Linked DNA regions of Homo sapiens: regions 2 and 3 are each linked to region 1. Evidence: promoter capture Hi-C in 16 types of primary human blood cells and fetal thymus (Javierre and others, 2016). All regions are on one chromosome and are shown on one strand. Each heading gives the region's core, a stretch centred on a gene start or on the middle of the fragment in contact. The rest is flanking DNA. Distances are from core to core; before and after follow the strand shown.

The links. Contacts are between HindIII fragments. The CHiCAGO score rates a contact against its expected background, and 5 or more counts as called.
Region 2: a contact is called between the fragment with the promoter of SMC6 here and the fragment with the promoter of ZNF2 in region 1, in 1 of 17 cell types (naive CD8 T cells). The highest score is 8.1, in naive CD8 T cells.
Region 3: a contact is called between the fragment with the promoter of PTPN4 here and the fragment with the promoter of ZNF2 in region 1, in 1 of 17 cell types (total B cells). The highest score is 7.9, in total B cells.

Annotation. Positions count from the first base shown.
Region 1 is chr2:95,164,414-95,167,316 of GRCh38, reverse strand. It overlaps ZNF2 (zinc finger protein 2), which reads right to left and starts at 1,508. Exons shown (of 5, transcript NM_021088.4): 1 at 1,457-1,508. RefSeq lists enhancers at 1,392-1,821, 1,249-1,883, 1,884-2,520. The HindIII fragment of the contact is 3,796 bases long and covers 139-2,903 here.
Region 2 is chr2:17,752,437-17,755,339 of GRCh38, reverse strand. It overlaps SMC6 (structural maintenance of chromosomes 6), which reads left to right and starts at 1,530. Exons shown (of 28, transcript NM_001142286.2): 1 at 1,530-1,714; 2 at 2,276-2,362. GEN1 (GEN1 Holliday junction 5' flap endonuclease) reads right to left here and starts at 1,202. Exons shown (of 14, transcript NM_001130009.3): 1 at 995-1,202. RefSeq lists silencers at 1,415-1,554, 1,695-2,054. The HindIII fragment of the contact is 9,742 bases long and covers 1-2,903 here.
Region 3 is chr2:119,758,421-119,761,323 of GRCh38, reverse strand. It overlaps PTPN4 (protein tyrosine phosphatase non-receptor type 4), which reads right to left and starts at 1,402. Exons shown (of 27, transcript NM_002830.4): 1 at 940-1,402. LOC101927764 (a long non-coding RNA gene) reads left to right here and starts at 1,610. Exons shown (of 4, transcript XR_007087215.1): 1 at 1,610-1,692. RefSeq lists enhancers at 546-1,170, 1,441-1,700, 1,417-1,711 and silencers at 901-1,200, 1,751-1,860. The HindIII fragment of the contact is 4,728 bases long and covers 631-2,903 here.

The sequences.
Region 1 (2,903 bases), core at 259-2,758:
TAGCCAGGATGGTCTCGATCTCCTGACCTCGTGATCCGCCCGCCTCAGACTCCCAAAGTGCTGGGACTTACAGGCGTGAGCCACTGTGCCCGGCCATATTATCTATTTCTCTGTAGCTTTTCACTGTTCGGACAAGCTTCTGCTTATTCAAGTGGTTACTGTAACTGCTATGATACTGCACTAGCTTTTCTTCCAACCACTAAAATTGCTGTCTTTCTGTGACTCTTTTTCCCCACTTTTGCCCTGGAAACATGGATGCTGCCCATAGCTCAGTCTTTGTACTTTCTTCGTTTTTGCCATCCCTCAGAAAGTCCATCCACATTCAGGGCTCCATTTTCAAACTCTACAGATGTCCATGTCCTGTAATTGTATTGTAATTTTACAATACAACTGTATTGCATTCTTCCAGACTCATCCTGCATTTCCAAATGACTGCAAACCTTAAATCAGGCGTTCCACCATCACCTCAAAACTATCTTCCTTTAGGCAATTCCACACATCAACGCCTCTTCCTGGCTTTACATTTGTATCAGATGTTTTATTGTTCTCCCAGGTGTCCCAAATTCAAACTCTTACCTCACTCTCTTTCCTCCCAAATCTAGTCACCAGGCCCTTTTGACTCTTCTTTTGCAGTGTCATCTGTATCCTTCCCTTTCACTACCACCACCATAATTCAAGTCCACAACATCTTACTCCAAAACTACCATACATTCCTAAGTAGCTCTCTGCTACTGGTCCTTTCCCCTCTCTAGTCCTGAATGTGACCTCTAGAATAACTGTCTCCAAATAGTTTCATTCGTGTCAGTCCCTGGATCACACCTATATAAGCCACCTTGCCTACTGAGTCTTGTCCTGATTCTCTGAGTCCCGGGCCCTGGCTCCCAGCGTACCTTTTCTTCAACCTTGTCTACCACTGTTCCTGCATTTCTGTAAAAACTATCTCCAGCTCAAATCTGCCTAACGCTTAGCTGCTTCTTTCGTGGTTTTTGTTTTGTTGTTGTTGTTTTTCTTTCACGTCAAATCCCACCTCCTCCATGAAGCCCTCCAGCACTCGTGCGGAGGCCCAGGGCAGGGAGCTAAATGAGGCAATCTGAGGCGCTGTCTGGCAAAGACGGAGCGGCAGCATCCTAGATTTGGTGTCAATTCCACCCACGTTCATTAAGCACCCATTATGGGAAGAAGAAACGGGAGAGGCGGAGGAAGACTCCAAACCTCCAACCTTAAAGTCCGGGACCGACATACAATGGGTGCCCAGACCCCACGGGACACACGCACACACGGGGGTGGATGCACAACTTTCCGTCCGCACCGAGACGTCGCGACACACGCTCTGCAGGCTGGCCTCGCCCGTGTCACCCCGTTTTGCTCCCACAGCACCTCCCCAAAGTTCTCATGTCCCCTCTCTCGGCTGCTGCGCTCACTCCGCTCCTTGAAGACACACACCCACAACCCTCACCTCCGGCACAGAGTGCTCGGGACCCGGGAAGACGGCGCCTCTTCAGGTCGGGAAACCAACGCGCCTGCGCACAGGGTCCTGGCGACTGCGCTCCCAATCAATGCGGGGCCTTCGCAAGGACTTCATCTCCCAGAAGTCTCGGCGTCCGGTGCGCTTTAATATGACGTCCGAAAATGTGTGCAAACGCCGGCTTCCCGTGGCTGAACAGGATCCAAAATGGCAGCGCTGTCGCCTTAGCTGGGAGAGCGAGCCGTTGTGGCTGTTTGGGAGACTTATGGTCACCCTGAAGTACTGCCTGCCTCTAGTGTCGCGTCCCTCCAGTATCCGATGGGAGCGCCGTCCGCAGGGAATGTGTCTCTCTGATCATGGTGCCTCGTGTCCAGCTCTGGGGAAGACCGAGACGAAATCGAGTCAGCTGGCGTTGGGAGAGGGCTTATTTCCGCTTCCGCTTGCCCACTTTCAGGAATTTGATTCTGAGAGCAGGGCTGCGGTTCCAGGCAGGGTTTGTACACATATTTGCGTTGGAAGGAGAGAGGAGCCTAGGACACATATGTATTAACTGTGCAGCTGGTCCGACTCCCGACAGCTTCAGCGCACACCAGCCAGCCTTGGAGTTGCTGGAACGGCCCTGGCTGCAAGCTGGAATCACCCGGAGAGCTTTCGACATTGATGCCTGAGGCCCAGCTGTGGAGCGACAGTTTGAAAAGAGCTGCAGGTGACTCTAATGTGCAGCTAAAGCTAGGAACCACTGAGCTACATCTCAGGGAAGACTGAAAATTACAAAGAATATGATAAAATCTTACTTCAGGAACAAAGCTACGTTTTTCCAGGTTAATTTATTAGTGGTTTGGGTTTTTTTTAAGTTTTTGTGGGTACACAGTAGGTGTGAACATTTATGGGCCACCTGAGATATTTTGACACAGGCATGCAATAAGTAATAATCTCATCAGGACAAATGGGATATCCATCACCTCAAGCATTTGTCCTTTGTGTTACAAACGATCCAGTTATATTCTTTTAGTTACTTTAAAATATACAATATTATTGGCTGTAATTACTCTGATGTGCTATCAAATACTAGTTATACTATTTCTTATTCTATTTTTTGTACCCATTAACTATCCCCACTTCCCCACCCCGCCAACCCTTCCCAGTCTGTTAACCATCCTTCTACTCTCCATCTCCATAAGACTACACTTTCATTCAAAAAATCCAAATTGCTCACCATAAGCAAGGCACAGTTACAAATATGAGTAAGTTACTGCCCCAAATGAACTCTTGGTCCAATGGAAAAAATCAGAATGTAAAATCACAATAGAGGCAGTATGTTCTATAATTATGTCACATTCAACATACTATGAGAGTACAATGGAGGAAGCTATTAACTATGGCCGGGAAAGGTGGGAAAGGATTCCTTTCACTGGTATACTTAAATACTTAAGAAAAA
Region 2 (2,903 bases), core at 281-2,780, about 77 Mb after region 1:
AAAGGGCTTAAGAGGTAAGAAAGCAAGCTATAGTTGTATTTAGGAAAAAAGGTCCCCCACTTAGGAATCAAGGAACGGTTCCTGAAGCAAGTGACATGTAAGTAGGGACCTCCCAACCGTGTTTCCCATTGGTTACAACAAGGCCAGATGTTTTGGTCTATTTTGACTATGTCATATTTTTCGTTGATCCATGGCAAGGGCCACAGTAGGAATATAATATATATGTGATTACTTTTAGAAATAAAAAGTGACTTTGATGTAAAGAATTCCATTACCGGAGGCCAGAATTTCAACATCAATTTATTTGGAGGTGGAGTGAGGTGGCAGTCAATGCATTATTTTCCCCACACAGAAGAGAAGATTTTGGAGTATGAAAAGTAGGTTACTTGTTAGGTCAGCATATTCATGGGAAGGGTTGTGTAAAGACTGAAGCGGGAGTGTGGGGTTGAGAAGGGCGCTGAAACCTAAGCCAAGGAAGTTAAGACTTCATTACTTCTGACGTTTATTTAGGGGGTTTACACTCTAGGTTACCGTGGGGGAAAGACTGATTGTAAATAACTACAATACCTTAAAGTAATTACTATAACAGAACTATATCCGAAATACAAGGTTAACACGGAAAAGGGAACACCCAACTGTGCCTATGGGGACCAGGGAGGGCTCTCCCGGGATGGCTTTGAGCGAGGCGTGGGAATTATCCCCATCGCATGCCCGGGGGAAGCACAGCGGGACCCAGCAGCTTCGGCCAAGCGCAAGCGGCCGGAGAACGCGCAGCTTTCCCGAGGCGGGGTGACGCAGGGCCCTCGCGAGTGGAAAACAGGGGCCAAGTCGCGGCCTGGCGGCTCGGTTCGGACTTCCTACTTTATTCAAAGGGAGTCATTGAAGGCGTTTTCGGAGGAGCAGCGAACAAAGAGCTCGTCCGTAAGCCAGATGGTCAAAGGAATCAGTGGGAGGACCCGGGCGGCGCCGTCTCTCCACGTCCCGCGGGACTTACCCGGACAACCCTTCCTCCTTGGCTCTGGAAGAAGCCCCTTCGTCATTTACCAGTTTGGCCTGAATCCTAACTACTGTGCCTCCAAATTTCTGAATTTTCTCAAAAGGAAAAAAAAAAAGGAAAGTCCTCTTTCTTTACCCAAGCAAAGACTAGCTCCCCGGGCTCAACCGCCAGGCCCAGGAGCACCAGGAAGCGTTTCGAATCCAGCGCCGGGCCCGCGCGGCCCCGCCTCTTCCGGGAAGTGACTGACCCCTTTCCCCCAATGGGGCCCGCTCGGCTTTCCCTTGCCGGCTCCCAGCCGGCCTAGCGGACGCATGCGTAGACCAGCTGCCGGGGGCGCTCAATTATCTTTCCCTTTTACTTAGGCAAATCACTCACCTCCCCCGAGTCCGGTCACTGCGGAGCCGCCCGTGCCTACCAGCTTCCCCCACCCGCTAAGGGGCACTTCCGGCCTCTCAGACTCCGGCGGCGCGAAACCCCGCAACTGCGCAGGCGCGGGCGGAGCCCGAAGGGAGGGAGGGCGGGGCGCAGGCGCGGTTAGTACCGCGGTGGGCGCCGGGGCTCCCGGGAATCTACCTTCTCCTGCGGCCGGCACGCGGTTCCCAGGGGGCCAGCGGCGGTCAGCCGAGGTCGAGACGCCCGCAGGGTGGCCTTAGCGGCCGGTCGTACCACGGCAGCCCCGCCGATCAGGTTCCTTTGGGAGACTTCGACTTGTTGGCGGTAGGGTGAAGGCGCGCGCTGTCGCTTTCCCTTGCTCCGGGGTTCATCCTCCGCCCGCTGCCCCCTTGGCTGGCGACCCCCAGCCACCCGGGAGAGGCAGGGTCAGCTGAGCTGCGGCGGTGTTCATGGTCGTCCTTGCGGGCCCGGGCGGGAGATGTCCGTTCCTCGGGCGGGTCGGGCGGCCGGCGGCACCTTCGCGCGCTCTCCGAGGCGGCACCGGTCTCCTGAGCCGCGGGAAACCTGGCGTCTGCTCCGGGCCGTCCCCTCCCAGGCGGCCGTCCCCTCCCAGGCGGCCGTCCCCAGACTCTCCCGGGCTGTGGCGAATAACTGTAAAGCGGGGAGAGGTCTGGGGAAAGCTGGGGTAGGGAGTGGCTCTTAGCATGAGTCTGATGATATCTCGCAGGCGGCAACTGGTGTGTTTAAAGGGTGTATGCAAAGATCACTGAAATCGGATTTGTCATTAAAGCCCAGTTTTACGAAAATGCAAATTGTATTACCTAGAAAAATTAACATGTGTTCAAAGGTTTACTGATGGCATTTCTCTGCCCTCATTTCTTACAGAAATGAACCGGAGAAGAATCCCAATTGGGAATTGCGGAAAACAGGACTCTAGGGTAGAGAAAGGTTGTAGAACCAATAGGGTTTGAGGTAATACTGTGAAAATTCTTAGAGCAATCATTTGGTGTTTGAGCCCTCAAGACAGAAGTTTTGTGAGCGCTTATTACTCTGCATATGTCACGAGTAGTAGATTAAAAGCCAGTGTTTTAAAGGCAAACTTCTCAGTAATATATATTCAAAGGAAAAAAGAAAAACCCAAATCTCCTGACTTTTATATGGTTGCAGTGTGATCTTTTAACATGTACAATAGTATATACAGTGGCATGCAGTTTGTTCCATGGGTGTGTGGGTAGAGAGGGAACATATTAGAACTTCTATTTAGATTTATTTCATTTGATTTCTACGTGAAACATAGGGTATTAATTTTATGTTGGAACATGTATTTCAAATTTCTTTTGCTTAATGGGTGCAAGTACAAAACGTTTGGAGGCCACTAGTATATTGCCTAAAAGCGTGTATTTATATCACAAAAAGCCAGAATTGTGTGACTCTGAGCAGGTTGGTACCACCTCTTTAAGTTTCAGTTCTTCTTATGCAAGTTGGAAGAAATAATACAGTTATCAGTGCATCC
Region 3 (2,903 bases), core at 153-2,652, about 25 Mb before region 1:
CAGAAAACCAAGATTTAAAAATGCCCTGGCTTTTACTGTTCCAGTCTTCTTTCTACTCTAATTGTCTTTTGCAAGTCGGACACATTGGCCTTTTATCTTTCTCCATAAATATGTTTTAAATGTGACCAATCAGCTGTACTGTTTCAACTGGGCCCAAGATCTGGACACAGAAACTTAGTATTACTGAAACCTCTTATTCGAAAAGCAGCTGGCATATTGCAGATGCATAACAAGTTATCCTAGAACAGGCGTTTTGAAAAATCCTACAAATCGTCCTTGTACATACTGATGTCACTACATGATGCAAGCCCAGACATAAAATCTTCCACCCTAAGTTTTGCAGAAACATCCACACATCACCTGTGCAACTGTAAGCTGTTCCATTTTATGGAAACCCTGCGAAATGCATCACTGTTTACCCACATCTCAACTTTTTTTTTTTTTTTTTTTTTGGCTCAACTACAGATTCCCAAATACAGGTATATACTGGTAGAATCATAACAGGCTTAAAACTTCAATGGTAGGAATAGTTGGCTCATGCAGCGTGCAAGAAGCGCTCATATGAGCCAAAAAAAAAAAAAAAAAAAAAAGGAATTCTACCAGCAATGGAAAACTCAAGATTCCAAAGCTTTACCTAGAGTTTAGGTACTGGGAACATTCCATCTCCGCACCTATTCCATCCCTTGGCCCTTCGCTGACCCATAACAGAGATTCCAACTATAACCCCCGCAAAAGCAGAGGTCCCAGGAAGAAAGGAAAGAAAGCGTTTTTTTGTTTGTTTGTTTGTTTGTTTTTGTCCTTTTTTCCTTCCTTTCAAATCATCCTCGTACCTCCGGCTTGCCCCACCTGGCTCACCTCCCAGGAGCCACACATGCAGGTAAGAGCCTCCCGTTCAACGTGCAGGGCCGAGAGGCCGGCGGGGACCGGAGAACCTCTTACCTTCGTATATCACAGCCGCGTCCTCTCGGCTGGAGAAAAAAAGCCTCGAGGCCCCGGCGCGCAGAGGAGAAGCGCGTCCTCCGTGCCGCTCCGGGGGGCTACCTCAGCGCCCCCCGAGCAGCCGCCGCCGCAGCGGTCGCGCCACGACCCGGAGCCGCCAGCACCACCTCATGCTGCTGGGCAGCCGCGGGCCGGCGCCGCTGGGGAGGTGGCAGGGAGGCGGGCAGCCGGCGACCTCTCCTACCTCCCTGCAGGGATGAGATAATCCACACCCCCAAAAGTGCGTGGGGGAGGGGGCCTGGCCCCAATCCTCCGACCCCGCGGCCAAAGCCAAGTCTCTTTCCTCTCCCGCTCAGGCCCAATTCCGGCCCCTGGGACCCAGGAGTCCTGAGAGAACAATGTTGGTGGTGGGGCGCGAGGAGCGGAAAAGCGCACTGCGCGGCGTGAGCTGGCGGGTAATCCTGGGCAGCGTTTGTGTGTGAGAGTGCAAGAGGAGCTCAGTCACCCCCCTCCTTCTCCACCTCCTCTTCCTCCCCCTCCTCCTCCTCTATCTCTTCCTCCTCCCTCAAGCACACCCCCTCTCCTAGGCCGCAGCATAGCAACCGAACATGGCGGCTGCGCAGGCGCCGCCAGTCAGTGGCCAGGAGCGGCGGCGGCAGCAACAGGAGGCGATCTCGCGAGAGGCGAGGCCAAAACCCTGCCTCGCTAGCGCAGGGAGAAGTCGCACCAGTCGGAGCGCAGAGGGACACGCAGGTGCGAGAGAGAGCGGCCTAGGAGGATTGGGAGGGCGGATTGGAGGGGGGAGGCGGAGCGCTGTGGCCCCCGCCCCGCAGCCGCGTCGCGATTGGTTGTTTGGACTGCGACCCCTGCTGCACCCACTGACCGCAGGGACCGGATAGTGGGCAAGAAGCGTGTGTTAAAAGGGAAAACCAGACCAGTTGGCAGCAGGTCGCCCCAACCTCAGTGCTCCTGGAGGATATAGGTTTTGGGGGGCAGTTTTGAATCATTTCCTCTCCTAAACGTAGGCTCCAAAACAAAGCCTCAGCAACCAACCTGCGTTTATAAAACAAACGTTCGGGGGCTCCTTCTGTGTGCCTGGAACGGTGTGCTTTTTAAAATTTAATTCCTTCTAATAACATGAATTTGGTGTTATCACGCCAGGGTTTTTAGCCAGGTGCATTATAATATTTTATTGGTGATACAAACTTATTGGTAATACCACAGTTGCCTACTGGCGAATGATCTCAGCTGAAATGGAGGAAGAAGGGATTTGGGGACCGCCACACTTCCTTTTTGCCCAATTTTTGTTAGTGCCCTTTTCTGTCGCCAGGCGCCTTCTTTGTCCTTCCTTGCTCTTAGCTTGAGCATCCTATCAGAGCCTACCTTTATAAAGACGATCTTTCAAAAACCACTTTCCCAAGCCGACAAAATGACTACAAATCAGGGGAATGTGAACAAATCTGGAAAAGACAGAAATTTCTATTGACTCTCTTCTCCCTCACACCTGTTAGTTTTTCCATTTGAAAAAGGCAACTTGTCAATCCATGTTTCCAGCTTTACTTCCTTCACTTGCTTTTCTTCCCAGATCTCTGTTGTAGCCAGTGCTCATTCATTCCTCCCTAAATATGCATTCCTGCCTCTGACTCTCCATTTTGTCTTTGATCATGCCATTCCCTCTGCTAAAATGCTCTTCACCTCATTGTCATCTGTCAACATCCAGTCATCCTCCAACCAAAGATCATATGAGACTTCCACCAGAAATTGAATGTTTCATATAAATAGAATCATACAATATGTAATTTTTGTTTAGAGGCAAGGTCTCGCTATGTTGTCAGGCTGGTCTCCAACTCCTGGGCTCAAGAGATCATCTTACCTTAACCTTCGGAGTAGCTGGGATTACACATGTGAGCCACATGGCTTACATGTAGTCTTGTGTCTGGTGTTAAGCAAGACACAAAAGTTCC